Regions from separate parts of the Homo sapiens genome. Here region 1 is linked to region 2. The links are contacts of gene promoters, found by promoter capture Hi-C in human tissues and cell types (Jung and others, 2019). All regions are on one chromosome and are shown on one strand. The core of a region is centred on a gene start or on the middle of the fragment in contact, and the rest is flanking DNA. Distances in the headings are between cores, read along the strand shown.

Region 1 (6,515 bases), core at 1,441-3,940, 1.4 Mb after region 2:
AGCCTCCCGAGTAGCTGGGATCACAGGCACCCACCACCACACCCAGCTAATTTTTGTATTTTTAGTAGAGATGGGGTTTCACCATGTTGGCCAGGCTGGTCTTGAACTTCTGACCTCAGGTGATCCACCCACCTCGGCCTCCCAAAGTGCTGGGATTACGGGCATGAGCCACCACGCCCGGCCAGTTATCTCATTTTAATTTGCATTTCTTTGATGACTAATGATGATGAGCACTTTCCTATGTGCTTTCTGACTATTTGTATCTCTTCTTTTGTGAAACGTCTGTTCAAATTTTTTGCTTATTTTTTAATTGGGTTTATTTTCCGTTGTAAGAGCTCTTTATATATTCTGGATATAGGCACTTTGTTAGATATACATATTGAGAATATTTTCTCCCGGCCTATGGCCTGTCTTTTACTTTCTTTTTTTATTTTTCTTTTTCTTTTTTTTTCTCTGAGACAGAGTTTTGGTCTTGTCACCCAGGCTGGAGCGCAATGGTGTGATCTTGGCTCACTGCAACCTCCACCTCTTGGGTTCAAGCGATTCTCTTGCCTCAGCCTCCTGAGTAGCTGGAATTACAGGCACTTGCCCCCATGCCCGGCTAATTTTTTGTAATTTTAGTGGAGATGGGGTTTCGCCATGTTGGACAGGCTGGTCTTGAACTCCTTACCTCAGGTGATCCACCCTTCTCGGCCTCCCAAAGTGCTGGGATTACAGGTGTGAGCCACCGTGCCCAGCCTTTACTTTCTTTAATGGTAAAATTTGAGAATCCTAAGTTTTAAATTTTGATAAAGTCCAATTTACCACATTTTTCTCTCATATTTGTGCTTTTGGTATCCCAACAAATCTTTGCCTTCTCCCAAGTCATGGAGATTTTTTCCTGTTTTCCTCTGAATATTTTAGTTTTAGTGTTTATGTGTAAGGCCATGATCCATTGTGAGTTAATTTCTGTGTGAGGCGTAGGGTTGAGGTTCATTCTTTTTCATGCAGATATCCAGTTGTTTCAGCACCATTTGTTGAAAAGATTGTTATTCCTTATTGAATTACTTTGCCACCTTTTGAAAACAGCCACATACATGTGGATCTCTTTTGGGACTTTGTGCTGTCTCATTTATCTCTACAGGCATACTTCAGAGATGTTGCAGGTTCAGTTCTGGACCACCACAATCAAGTGAATATCGCAATAAAGAGAGTCAACAAAGTTTTTGCGTTTCCCAGTGCATATAAAAGTTATATTTGGCCAGGTGTGGTGGCTCACGCCTCAGTCCCTGCACTTTGGGAGGCCAAGGCGGGTGGATCACCTGAGGTCAGGAGTTCAAGACCAGCCTGGCCAACATGATGAAACCCCATCTCTACTAAAAATACAAAAAATTAGCCAGATGTGGTGGTGGGCGCCTGTAATCCTGGCTACTCAGGAGGCTAAGGCAGGAGGATCACCTGAACCCCAGAGTAGAGGTTGCAGTGAGCCGAGATTGTGCCACTGCACTCCAGCCTGGATGACAACAGCGAAACTCTGCCTCAAAAAAAAAAAAAAGTTTTATGTTTACACTATACTGTAGTCTATTAAGTGTGCAATAGCATTATGTCTAAGAAACAATGTACATACGTTAATTTAAAAATATTGCTAAAAAATGCTAACAATTATCTGAGCCTTCAGCGAGTGGCAATCTTTTTGCTGGTGGAGGGTCTTGTCTTGATGTTGATAGCTGCTGATTGATCAGGGCGGTGGTTGCTGAAGGCTGGAGTGGCTATGGCAATTTCTTTTCTTTTTTCTTTTTTTTTTTTTTGAGGCAGAGTCGCTCTGTCGCCCAGGCTGGAGTGCAGTGGCACGATCTTGGCTCACTGCAAGCTCCGCCTCCCGGGTTCACGCCATTCTCCTGCCTCAGCCTCCTGAGTAGCTGGGACTACAGGCGCCCGCCACCACGCCTGGCTAATTTTTTTTGTATTTTTAGTAGAGACGGGGTTTTACCGTGTTAGCCAGGATGGTCTCGATCTCCTGACCTTGTGATCCGCGCACCTCAGCCTCCCAAAGTGCTGGGATTACAAGCGTGAGCCACCGCGCCTGGCTGGCAATTTCTTAAGACAACAATGAAGTGTGCTGCATTTATTGACTCTTACTTTTACAAAAGGTTTTCCTGTAGCACGTGATGCTGTTTGATAACATTTTACTTATAGTAGAACATCTTTTAAAATTGTAGTCAATCTTCTCAAACCTTGCCACTGCATTATCATGTAAGTCTATGGAATATTCTAAATCTTTTCTGGTCATCTCAGCAGCGTTCATAGCATCTTTACCCAGAGTAGATTCCTCCTCAAGAAACTGCTCTTTCGTTCCTTCGTAAGAAGCAACTCTTCATCTGTTCAGCTTTGAACATGAGATTGCAATTATTTGGCCACATCTTCAGGCTCCACTTCTGATTCTACTTCTCTTGCTGTTTCCACCACATCTGCTGTTACTTCCTGCACCGGAGTCTTGAACTCCTCAGAGTCATCCATGAGGACTGGAACCAACCTCTTCAAACTTCTATTAATGTTGCTATTTTGATCTCTTCCTGTGAATCCCGAATGTTCTTAAAGGCATTAGAATGGTGAATCCTTTCCAGGTTTTCAGTTTACTTTGCCCAGATCCTACAGAGGAATCACTATGGCAGCTTTAGCCTTACAAAATGTATTCCTTTAATAATAAGACCTAAAAGTCAAAATTACTGCTTGATCCATGGGCTGCAGAATGGATGTTGTGTTAGCAGGCATGGAAACAGAAACAGATCTCAGTCGATTTAGAGGTGTATTTTGCCAAGGTTAAGAAAGAAACACAAGTCATTGTAGGATCTGTGGCCTGTGTGCTTTTTCTAAAGAGGGTTTTGGAAACTTCAGTATTTAAAGAGGAAAAAGTAGGCAGGAGGGGAAGAGGGGAAGAAAAGGAGGTGGAGTAGGCAATGAGGCCAGTGGTCACATTTTTGTGAGGCTTTTAGTACCATTCAGTGAATCTACATTTTACATGTGAAAAGAAGGGAGTGGGGCAGAGTCACATACGCCTTCTCCGCACAGTAAATCTGCATTTTACCTGCGATAAATAAGCACGTAAATTACTTTATCTGGGAAAGAAAAGAAGGCAGCTTTTCTTTTGCGTAACTTGGTTGTTAAGCTTAACTTTCCCTTTAGCTTGGTGAATTCGGGGTCCTGAGATTTTATTTTTCTTTTGCAATGTGTATACAAAGAGATTGATGATAAGAAATTGGCTCACACAATTACGGAGGCTGAGAAATTCAGACCCTGGAGAGCCAATGGTATGACTCCAGTCTGAGACGGAGTCCAAAGACGAAGACCAATGTCCCAGCTCAAAGACAGGCAGGCAGAGAGAGTTGATTCTCTTACTCTACCTTTTTTTTTTTTTTTTGAGGCAGAGTCTTGCTCTGTTGGCCAGGCTAGAGTGCAGTGGCGTGATCTCAGCTCACTGCAACCTCTGCTTCCTGGGTTCAAGCAATTCTCCTGCCTCAGCCTCCTGAGTAGCTGGGTTACAGGTGTGCGCCACCATGTCTGACTTTTTTTTTTTTTTTTTTTTGTGATGGAGTCTCACAGTGTTGCCCAGGCTGGAGTACAGTGGTGTGATCTTAGCTCACTGCAACCTCCGCCTCCCAGGTTCAAACTATTCTCCTGCCTCAACCTCCCATGTAGCTGGAATTACAGGCATGTGCCACCAGGCCTGACTAATTTTTGTATTTTTAGTAGAGACAGGGTTTTACCATGTTGGCCAGGCTAGTCTCGAACTCCTGACCTCAACTGATCCGCCTGCCTTGGCCTCCCAAAGTGCTGTGATTATAGGCATGAGCCACCACACCTGGCCTTACTCCACTTTTCTGTTGTACTTGGGCCTTCAGTGGACTGGCTGAGGCCCTCTCATACTGGGAGGGCATCCGATATCTCAGTTCACCCATTTGGATGTTACTCTCCTCCAGAAACATGCTCACAGACGCAGTCAGAGTATGCTTAACCAAATATCTGGGTACCCCACGGCCCAGTCCAGTTGACACATAAAATTAGCCACGTATTACGTGACCTTTTTGTGTGATCGATGTCAGTTCTGCTGTAACAATGTGGAAAATGCGCTTCTGGGGGGCTTAATATAGATCTGGCCATGTGGCAGTGTCTTCCAGAGCAGGATGGCTGTGGTCACGTCACGGTGACACACAGCTGAACACGAGTGAGCTAAGGCCATAGCTGTCTGTGCTAGCTGCCTTTTCTTTCTCTAGTGTTTTGCCCACAGTCAGCATGAGTATTTGGACCAGTGGCCTTGCGTGGGCAGCCGGCATGGACTTGCTCCCTGGGGCTGCAGAGTCTGCCCCTGGCTTCATGCCCTGCATGTTGTGTGTGAGCAAAGAAATATTTAACAGCCCCACCCGGAGCTAAGACACAACTCTGTCAGCCTAACCACAGTGTTTGCGTTTAAACCTAACCTAATAATTTTCAGTGCCATTTATGAGGGCATCTGACACAGCCGCCGTGGAAAAGCACCTCCACCGCTACAGTTTCCTGGCGGATGATGCTTCTAGGTGAAACTTTGCTCTGTGGGTTCCCTTGCTGGAGGCAGCAGCCCACGGTTGGTGTGCCGCAGGCGGGTTATACGTCTGTTCATCTGAGATGCCTCTGCGTGCTCTGCTTCAAATCACAGGGGGCTTTTTGTTGAAACACTGGGAGATTTGCATTTGGAAATCATGTCCTATTTCTTTTTAATGAAAAATTACTTTATGGCTTCAGTGTTGCCCATGATGTGTTTTGGAAGCAGGTGGGATCATGACCGCAGTGCTCAGCCCAGCGGTTCTATCGGACCCTTCCCTGAATGCTTCTCTCCTGCCCAGAAGGTAGCAAAAGTCACGTGGGCTTCAGGCCGGAGCTGTGTCAGTCACTGGGCCAGACATTCTTGTATGTCCAAGCTGTTGTTTCTGTTGCTGTTGTTGTTGTTTTGTTTTTTGGGATGTGGTCTCACCCTGTCACCCAGGCTGGAGTACAACGGCACAATCATAGCTTACTGCAGCCTTGACCTCCTGGGTTCAAGCCATTTTCCCACTTCAGCCTCCAGAGTAACTGGGACCACAGGTGTGTGCCATCATGCCCAGCTAATTTTAAAAATTATTTGTAGACATGAGGTCTCACTGTGTGGACCAGGCTGGTCTTGAACCCCTTGGCTCAAGCAATCCCCCTGCCTTGGCTTCCCAAATTGCTGGGATCACAGGCATGAACCACCATGTCTGGCTGTCCAAACCGCCTTTTAAAATTAAAACTTGGCTGGGCGTGGTGGCTCATGCCTGTATTCCCATCACTTTGGGAGGCCGAGGCAGGTAGATCACTTGAGCCCAGGAGTTCAAGACCATCCTGGTCAACATGGTGAAACCCCATCTCTACTAAAAATACAAAAATTAGCCAGGCGTGGTGGTGCACACCTGTAACCCAGCTACTCAGGAGGCTGAGGTGGGAGGATCACTTGAGTGGGGAGGTTGCAGTGAGCCAAGATCACGCCACTGCACTCAAGTCTGAATGATAGAGTGGAACCCTGTCTCCAAAAAAAAAAAAAAAAAAAAAATGGCTGGGCATAGTGGCTTACGCCTGTAATCCCAGCACTTTGAGAGGCCAAGGCAGGTGGATTCCCTGAGGTCAGGAGTCCGAGACCAGCCTGGCCAACATGGTGAAGCCCCGTCTCTACTAAAAATACAAAAATTAGCCAGGCATGGTGGTGGGAGCCTGTAATCCCAGCTACTTAGGAGGCTGAGGCAGGAGAATCGCTTGAACCCGGGAAGCAGAGGTTGCAGTGAGCTGAGATTGTGCAACTGCACTCAAGCCTAGGCAACAAGAGCAAAACTCCGTCTCAAAAAAAAAAAAAAAAAATTACCATTGTAACCATTTTTAAGCATGCAGTTTGGTGGTGTTAAGCACGTTCACATCACTCTGCAGCAATCACCACCCTCCAGCCCCAGAACTATGTTCATCTTGTAAAACTAAAGCTCTGTCCCCATTGAACACAAACTCCCATCCCCCTCCCCTGCCCCCACAACCACCATTCTACTTTCTGTCTCTAGGAATTTAACTGCCCTGGGAACCTCATACAAGTAGAATCTTGAAATATTTGTCTTTTTTTTTTTTTTTTTTTTTTTGAGATGGAGTCTCGCTCTGTTGCCCAGGCTGGAGTGCAGTGGCACGATCTCACCTCACTGTAAGCTCTGCCTCCCGGGTTCATGCCATTCTCCTGCCTCAGCCTCCAGAGTAGCTGAGACTACAGGCGCCCGTCAGCATGCCCGGCTAATTTTTTGTATTTTTAGTAGAGACGGGGTTTCACCGTGTTAGCCAGGATGGTCTTGATCTCCTGACCTCGTGATCTGCCCGCCTCGGCTTCCCAAAGTGCTGGGATTACAGGTGTGAGCCGCCACACCGGCCAAGTATTTGTCCTTTTGTTTCTGGCTTATTTCACTGAGCATAATGTCTTCAGGGTTCATCCATGTTGTAGCATGTGTCAGAATTTCCTT
Region 2 (6,184 bases), core at 3,332-5,831:
CAGGACAATAGTTACTATCATGTGAACTCACACATGGTGACATGCCCCCCGATCCTGCTGCGTGCTTTACAGGGATGGCCTCCTTTACCCTCCCCACAACCCAGCCAGGAGGCCCAGCCATCATCCCATGAGGCCCCCACACACTCTGTGCTGCTGGCAGCGGGTGAGGCTGCTCCACCAGCGTGTCTGTGTGACACCCGGTGCCTAAAACTAATCCCCAGGACAGGACGCGAACTTCTAAATCACTGCAGAGGCTTGAGATCTCAGACCACGGTGGTCATCTGAAACACACCTATATTTTCACATCAGGCAAACATGGTCCAAGTCCTCAAGAGACAACTTTAAAAACTCCATTGTGGTCCATTTTCTAAAACAGACACACACGGAGGTTGGAGTAAAGTAATGTCTAGGATTTTAGCACAGAAGGAAAAAGGAAGAAAAGAAATGGCTAAAAACAGGGTGGGTGCCGGTTATGGGAGGTAGACTCCTCAACTTCTGTATGTTTGATGATTTTCATGAACAAATAACCAATCGAAATTCTACGGTCAAAATAACTGACCTTATAGAAAGAGCAGAATTTTTAAAAAGAAAAAAAAAACAACAAAAACAAAAAACAACAAAAGCCTGGGCGTAGTGGCTCACGCCTGTAATCCCAGCACTTTGGGAGGCCGAGGTGGGCGGACCATGAGGTCAGGAGATCCAGACCATCCTGGCTAACACGGTGAAACCCCGTCTCTACTAAAAATACAAAAAATTAGCCGGGCAAGGTGGCAGGCGCCTGTAGTCCCAGCTACTCGGGAGGCTGAGGTGGGAGAATGGGGTGAACCCGGGAGGCGGAGCTTGCAGTGAGCTGAGATCATGCCACTGCGCTCCAGCCCAGGCGACAGAGTGAGACTCCGTCTCAAAAAAATAATAAAAATAAAAATAAAAAAACAATGAAATCAGAACACATGCCCTGAACATTTGCCTAAACATTGCCTGGCCAATCTGCGAGACCACCTGAGGCACTGGCCCTGGCTCCCTTCCTCCCAGCTGTCCTCGGGAGTCTCAAGGGGAAGCTGAGCATGAGGCAGGAGGCCTGCTCACACCCTCACATGAACACAGCTCAATTCACACCGTCTCTAAAGCTTGGCAGCGCCATGGAGAAATTCTCAGTTCCAGTTTTCTAAAGATGCATTAATTTAAGACTAATTTAAACACGTGGCTCCAGCCAGCGTGCTACTTAAACAATCAGAGATGGTAAGAGACAGATTCAGTGTGGCCCTTGGACAAATGTGAGCCCTGGAAGAGCCTAAGCGACAGCCCCAAAGGCAGAACGTGGCCTCACTGAAGTCCACACCGCTGAGAAGGCCCATCATCCTTACGGCCCCAAATGTCCACACGAATAACCCCGAACACACCTGTGTGGCCGGAAAGGCACAACGGATTTTTGCCTTGAGGGAAATGTCTGAGTATGTTATGGGAACATGAAAAGAGCTCAAAGTGGATGGGCGAATTGTCAACCTGTCTTCAGCACAGACACAGCTGTCTGAAGACCGAAATGCTTAGTGAGCTAATCATGGCCTCGAAAAGCAAAAATAAAAGCTCCCACTACCATCATATAATTATATGCTACATGCTTTTTTTTGCATAAGGGATTAGAATAGCTCTTATTTTAAGTAAAAGCTGTGGGGATCATAGCTACGAACGCGTTTGTTTTGTTTAAAAGTGAGCGTTGGTGAGTTCTGGTTACGACAGGAAGAATCATTCATCTTTCATCATTTCTTAAATAGTCTATTGTCCTCCCTGTCACATTCCCAACAACTCAAAGTGGAGCAAAACAACCCAGTGCATATTTTTAACATCTGAGAATGCAAAAGAAAGAAACTGTGTACCCACGACCTTCGGTCTTTTGACTCAGTCAGCATTATGATGCACGATTTGGAAACCTTAATGACAGGTCGGTAGCAACCAAATGTGGAAAGAAAATGCTCTCAGGAATGCAATCATGTATAACGCTATCGCTCAAGAAGAGGTTCCCAAGATTGTGAAACAGCTTTTGGTACAATTTCATCTGATAAGCCTCCATTTCAAGGGCAAACAATTCCACAGTCCTGAAAAACACAAGCTGAATCCCAGGCCTGAAAAAGACACACTGTAATGGCCTTTCAGGAAAAAAAAAGTTTTAATTGGAGTAGTGGGAGGTGGAAATCATAACGCTTAGCTGTACTCACCTCTCCATCCTGCATTCTAAATATTCTTTTGATTCCTTTCTGCACAAAGCATTTTCAAAATTATTGTTATGAAGACACTTCATGAATTTCTCTTTAAAGCTTTTACATTCACCTAGAACGAGAAAGAAAACAGCATGTTCTTTTCAGAGTGAAAAGTGATGCAACCACACAACAGCCTTAAGAGCTGCGCTGCTTTTCCTTTCAAAACTTGTTTCCTCAGGCCGGGCGCAGTGGTTCACACCTGTAATCCCAGCACTCTGAGAGGATCACCTGACCCCAGGAGTTTGAGACCAGCCTGGGCAACACAGTGAGACCCCCATCTCTACCAAAAAAAACCTTAAAAGTTAGCTAGGTGTGGCGCACGTCTGTGGTTCCAGCTACTCAGGAGGCTGAGGCAGGAAGATCGCTTGAGCAAAGGATTTCGAGGCTGCAGTGAGCTTGATCACACCACTGCACTCCAGCCTGGGCAACAGATCAAGACCTTGTCTCCTAAAAATAATCCAGGCTGGGCACGGTGGCTCACGCCTGTAATCCTAGCACTTTGGGAGGCAGAGGTGGGCGGATCACCTGAGGTCAGGAGTTCAAGACCAGCTCGGCCAACTTGGTGAAACCCCATCTCTATTAAAAATACAAAAATTAGCCGGGCATGGTGGCGGGTGTCTGTAGTCCCAGCTACTCGGGAGGCTGAGGCAGGAGAATTGCTTGAACCCAGGAAGCGGAGGTTGCAGCGAGTCGAGATCACACCACTGCACTCCAGCCTGGGTGACAGAGTGAGACTCCATTTCAAAAATAAATAAATAAATGATCCAGCCTGGTCAACATGGGGAAACTCCATCTTTAAAATAAAAAATAAAAAAACAATAATAATTAGCTGGGTGTGGTGTTGCACACCTATAGTCCCAGCTACTCTAGAGGCTGAGACAGGAGAATCGCTTGAACCCGGGAGGAGGAGGTTGCAGTGAGTCGAGATCACACCACTGCACTCCAGCCTGGGCGACACAGTGAGAGTCCATTTCAAAAATAAATAAATAAATAATCCAGCCTGGGCAACATGGGGAAACCCCATCTCTAAAAAAAAAAAAAAAAAAAAAATTAGCTGGGTGTGGCGCTGCACACCTATAGTCCCAGCTACTCTAGAGGATGAGACGGGAGACTCCCCTGAGTCCAGAAAGGAAGGAGGCCGAGGCTTCAGTGAGCTATGATTGCACCACTGCACTCCAGCCTAAGCAACAGAGTGAGACCGTGTCTCAAAACAAAAACAATCAAACCCAAACTTGTTTCCTTCATAAACATGCTGAAAACAACAATGGAAAAAACCCACAACGAGGTAAAGTCAGCCCAGTACGAGGTTAAGGTGCAATGTAGGTGATGGTCACAGGAGAGTTCAGGGTAAAAATTCTTTCATTTTTGCTATTTGAAAATGTCACAATAAAATGTTGGGAAAGAAACAGTAATTCACAGATCGTTTTTCTTTTCTTTTCTTTCTTTTTTTTTTTGAGACGTTGTCTCACTCTGTCGCCCAAGCTGCAGTGCAGTGGCCCGATCTCGGCTCACTGCAACCTCCGTCTCCCGGTTCAAGCGATTCTCCTGCCTCAGCCTCCCGAGTAGCTGGGACTACAGGCGAGCCACATCACACCCAACTAATTTTTGTATTTTTAGTAGAGACGGGGTTTCCCCATGTTGGGCAGGCTGGTCTCGAACTCCTGATCTTAAATGATCCGCCCACCTCGGCCTCCCAAAGGGCTGGGATCACAGGCATGAGCCACCGCGCCCGGCCCACAGATCCTTTTTCGAAGCCTTCATGTCCACGGAGGCAACCCCACCGGAATACGGCCAGAAGCACTGGGAGATCAGCAGCACTTTTGAGCTTTGCAGCAGACATCGCTAGGCACCGTCTAAGCCTCGGCTGCAGCTGCGGGCTTCGTGGCCGCCGAATGCCCCGCTCTGCAAACCCGGGGCACAGACAGCCCGCCGGGTGAGTCAGGGCGGAGCCGGAGACCCGGAAGCCTGACGCAAGGAGTCGGTGTCGCTGCCCTCGTCACGGGGGCCACGGTCCTGCCAGCTCCCACCTGCAGGGTCCATGCCGCAGCAGTGACCCAGGGCTGGGTGGGGCGGAGGGGCGGGCCGCCGTGCCTCAGTTTCCCCGCCTGCACCGCGCTAGATGCCGGCACCCCATAGGGCTCCGCGCTGGGCCGCGACCCAGACCCCCCATCGCAGACCCCTGCCCGCCGACCTTCCGCCGCTCACCTAAGTGATCCAGCGGGAAGCTGCCCTTGTCCGGGGGCCGCGGCTGGAAGCTCTTGGTCCCGAAATTCATGGCGGTCGACATGTTGGCGACTCCGGAGTCTGCGAGCGCCTTGCGAGCGTACGCAGGGCGGCCGGCGGAGCGCCGAGCAGGCACCCCGGGAGCGCCGAGCACGTCGAGCAGGCCCCGTCCCCGCCCCTTGCCCAGGCCCGGCCCCACCCCTTGCCCAGGCCCGGCCCCACCCCCTCGGAGTCAGCAAGCTCCTGAGCCCCGGTGGGCGCTGCCCGGGCTTTCCCGTCCCCTGGGACCCTCACAGCAGTCGGTAGCAGAATCAGCTTTTGGAATTGGTGAGAAACCGAGGCCCAGAAAGGTTCAGCGAATTGCCCGAGGACACATAGCGGTGCCGGCGTCTCTGCATCCCAGGTGTCTGCTGGGGCCTCGGTTTCCCCATCGCACAGAGACCTCATCACGGGGCCCATCCGGGGAGGAAGGCGGCACAGGAGGGACAGGAGAGCCTGTGGACTCGCTGCCTGCGGCTGCTGGAGCCAGGTGACACCACCGAGCAGCTTCAACAACAGGAATGTGCTCTCAGTCCTGGGGTCTGGAGTCCAAGCAGTGGGCAGAGTGGGGGCCCTGGGGACAGTCCCAGCCTCCCAGCTTCTGGGGGCCGCCAGCCTGTGAGGTTCCTTGGCTTGCAGAAGCACCACCTGGTCTCGGCCCCTACGTTCCCATGGTGTCCTGCGCATGTCCAAATTTACTATTTTTATTTATTTATTTGAGACAGGGTATTGCTCTGTTGCCCAGACTAGAGTGCAGTGGCATGATCACGACTCACTGCAGCCTCGACCTCCTGGGCTCAGCGATCCTCTCACCCCAGCCTCCTGAGTAGCTGCGACCACAGGCACACACCACCACACCAGGCTAATTTTTCTATTTTTCGTAGAGATGGAGTCTCCCTATGTTGCCCAGGCTGGTCCTTAACTCCTGGGCTCAGGCAATCCTCCTGCCTCAGCCTCCCTAAATGCCGGGATTATAGGCATGAGCCACCATGCCCAACCTAAATTTCCTCTTTTTATAAGGATAGCAGTCATGTTGGGTTAGGGGCCGTCCCAATAACTTCATCTTAACTAATTATATCAGCAGCAACCCTATTTCTTTGTTTTGTTTTTTAAAACGGAGTCTCTCTCTTGTTGCCCAGGCTGGAGTACAGTGGCTCGATCCTGGCTCATTGCAACCTCCACCTCCCAGGTTAAAGCAATTCTCCTGCCTCAGCCTCCCGAGTAGCTGGGATTACAGGCGCCACCAACACACCCAGCTAAGCTAATATATTTTTTTTCAACACAGAGTCTCACTTTGTAACCTAGACGGGCGTGCAGTGGTACGATCTCGGCTCACCGCAACCTCCACTTCCCGAGTTCAAGAGATTCTCCTGCCTCAGCCTCCAGAGTAGCTGGGATTACAGGCATGCGCCACCACACCCGGCTAATTTTTTGTACTTTTCGTAGAGACGGGGTTTCACCATGTTGCCCAGGCTGGTCTCGAACTCCTGACCTTAAGTGATCCGCCCACTTCAGCCTCCCAAAGGGCTGGGATGACAGGCGTGAGCCGCCGCACCTGGCACCTATTTCCAAAGCAAAGGTCACATCCTAAGGTCCTAGTGGCTTCACCATACGAATGGGGGTGGAGGGTAGTTACAGCTCAACCTAGGGCAGAATGAAAGTGTACT

The links. Contacts are between HindIII fragments. The study calls those that stand out against the background at their distance.
Region 1: a fragment that was not itself captured here is called in contact with the fragment with the promoter of COX19 in region 2 in 1 of the 25 tissues and cell types used here (heart left ventricle).

Annotation. Positions count from the first base shown.
Region 1 is chr7:2,413,846-2,420,360 of GRCh38, forward strand. All of the region lies in intron 1 of CHST12 (carbohydrate sulfotransferase 12), which reads left to right. Among named protein-coding and RNA genes, the nearest start is that of CHST12, 13 kb to the left of the region's middle. The HindIII fragment of the contact is 8,434 bases long and covers 1-6,515 here.
Region 2 is chr7:970,968-977,151 of GRCh38, forward strand. COX19 (cytochrome c oxidase assembly factor COX19) reads right to left here and starts at 4,582. Exons shown (of 3, transcript NM_001031617.3): 1 at 4,461-4,582; 2 at 2,214-2,325. The coding sequence starts at 4,542. RefSeq lists enhancers at 3,805-4,687, 3,987-4,056, 4,688-5,568 and silencers at 4,297-4,456, 4,477-4,756. The HindIII fragment of the contact is 7,753 bases long and covers 1,720-6,184 here.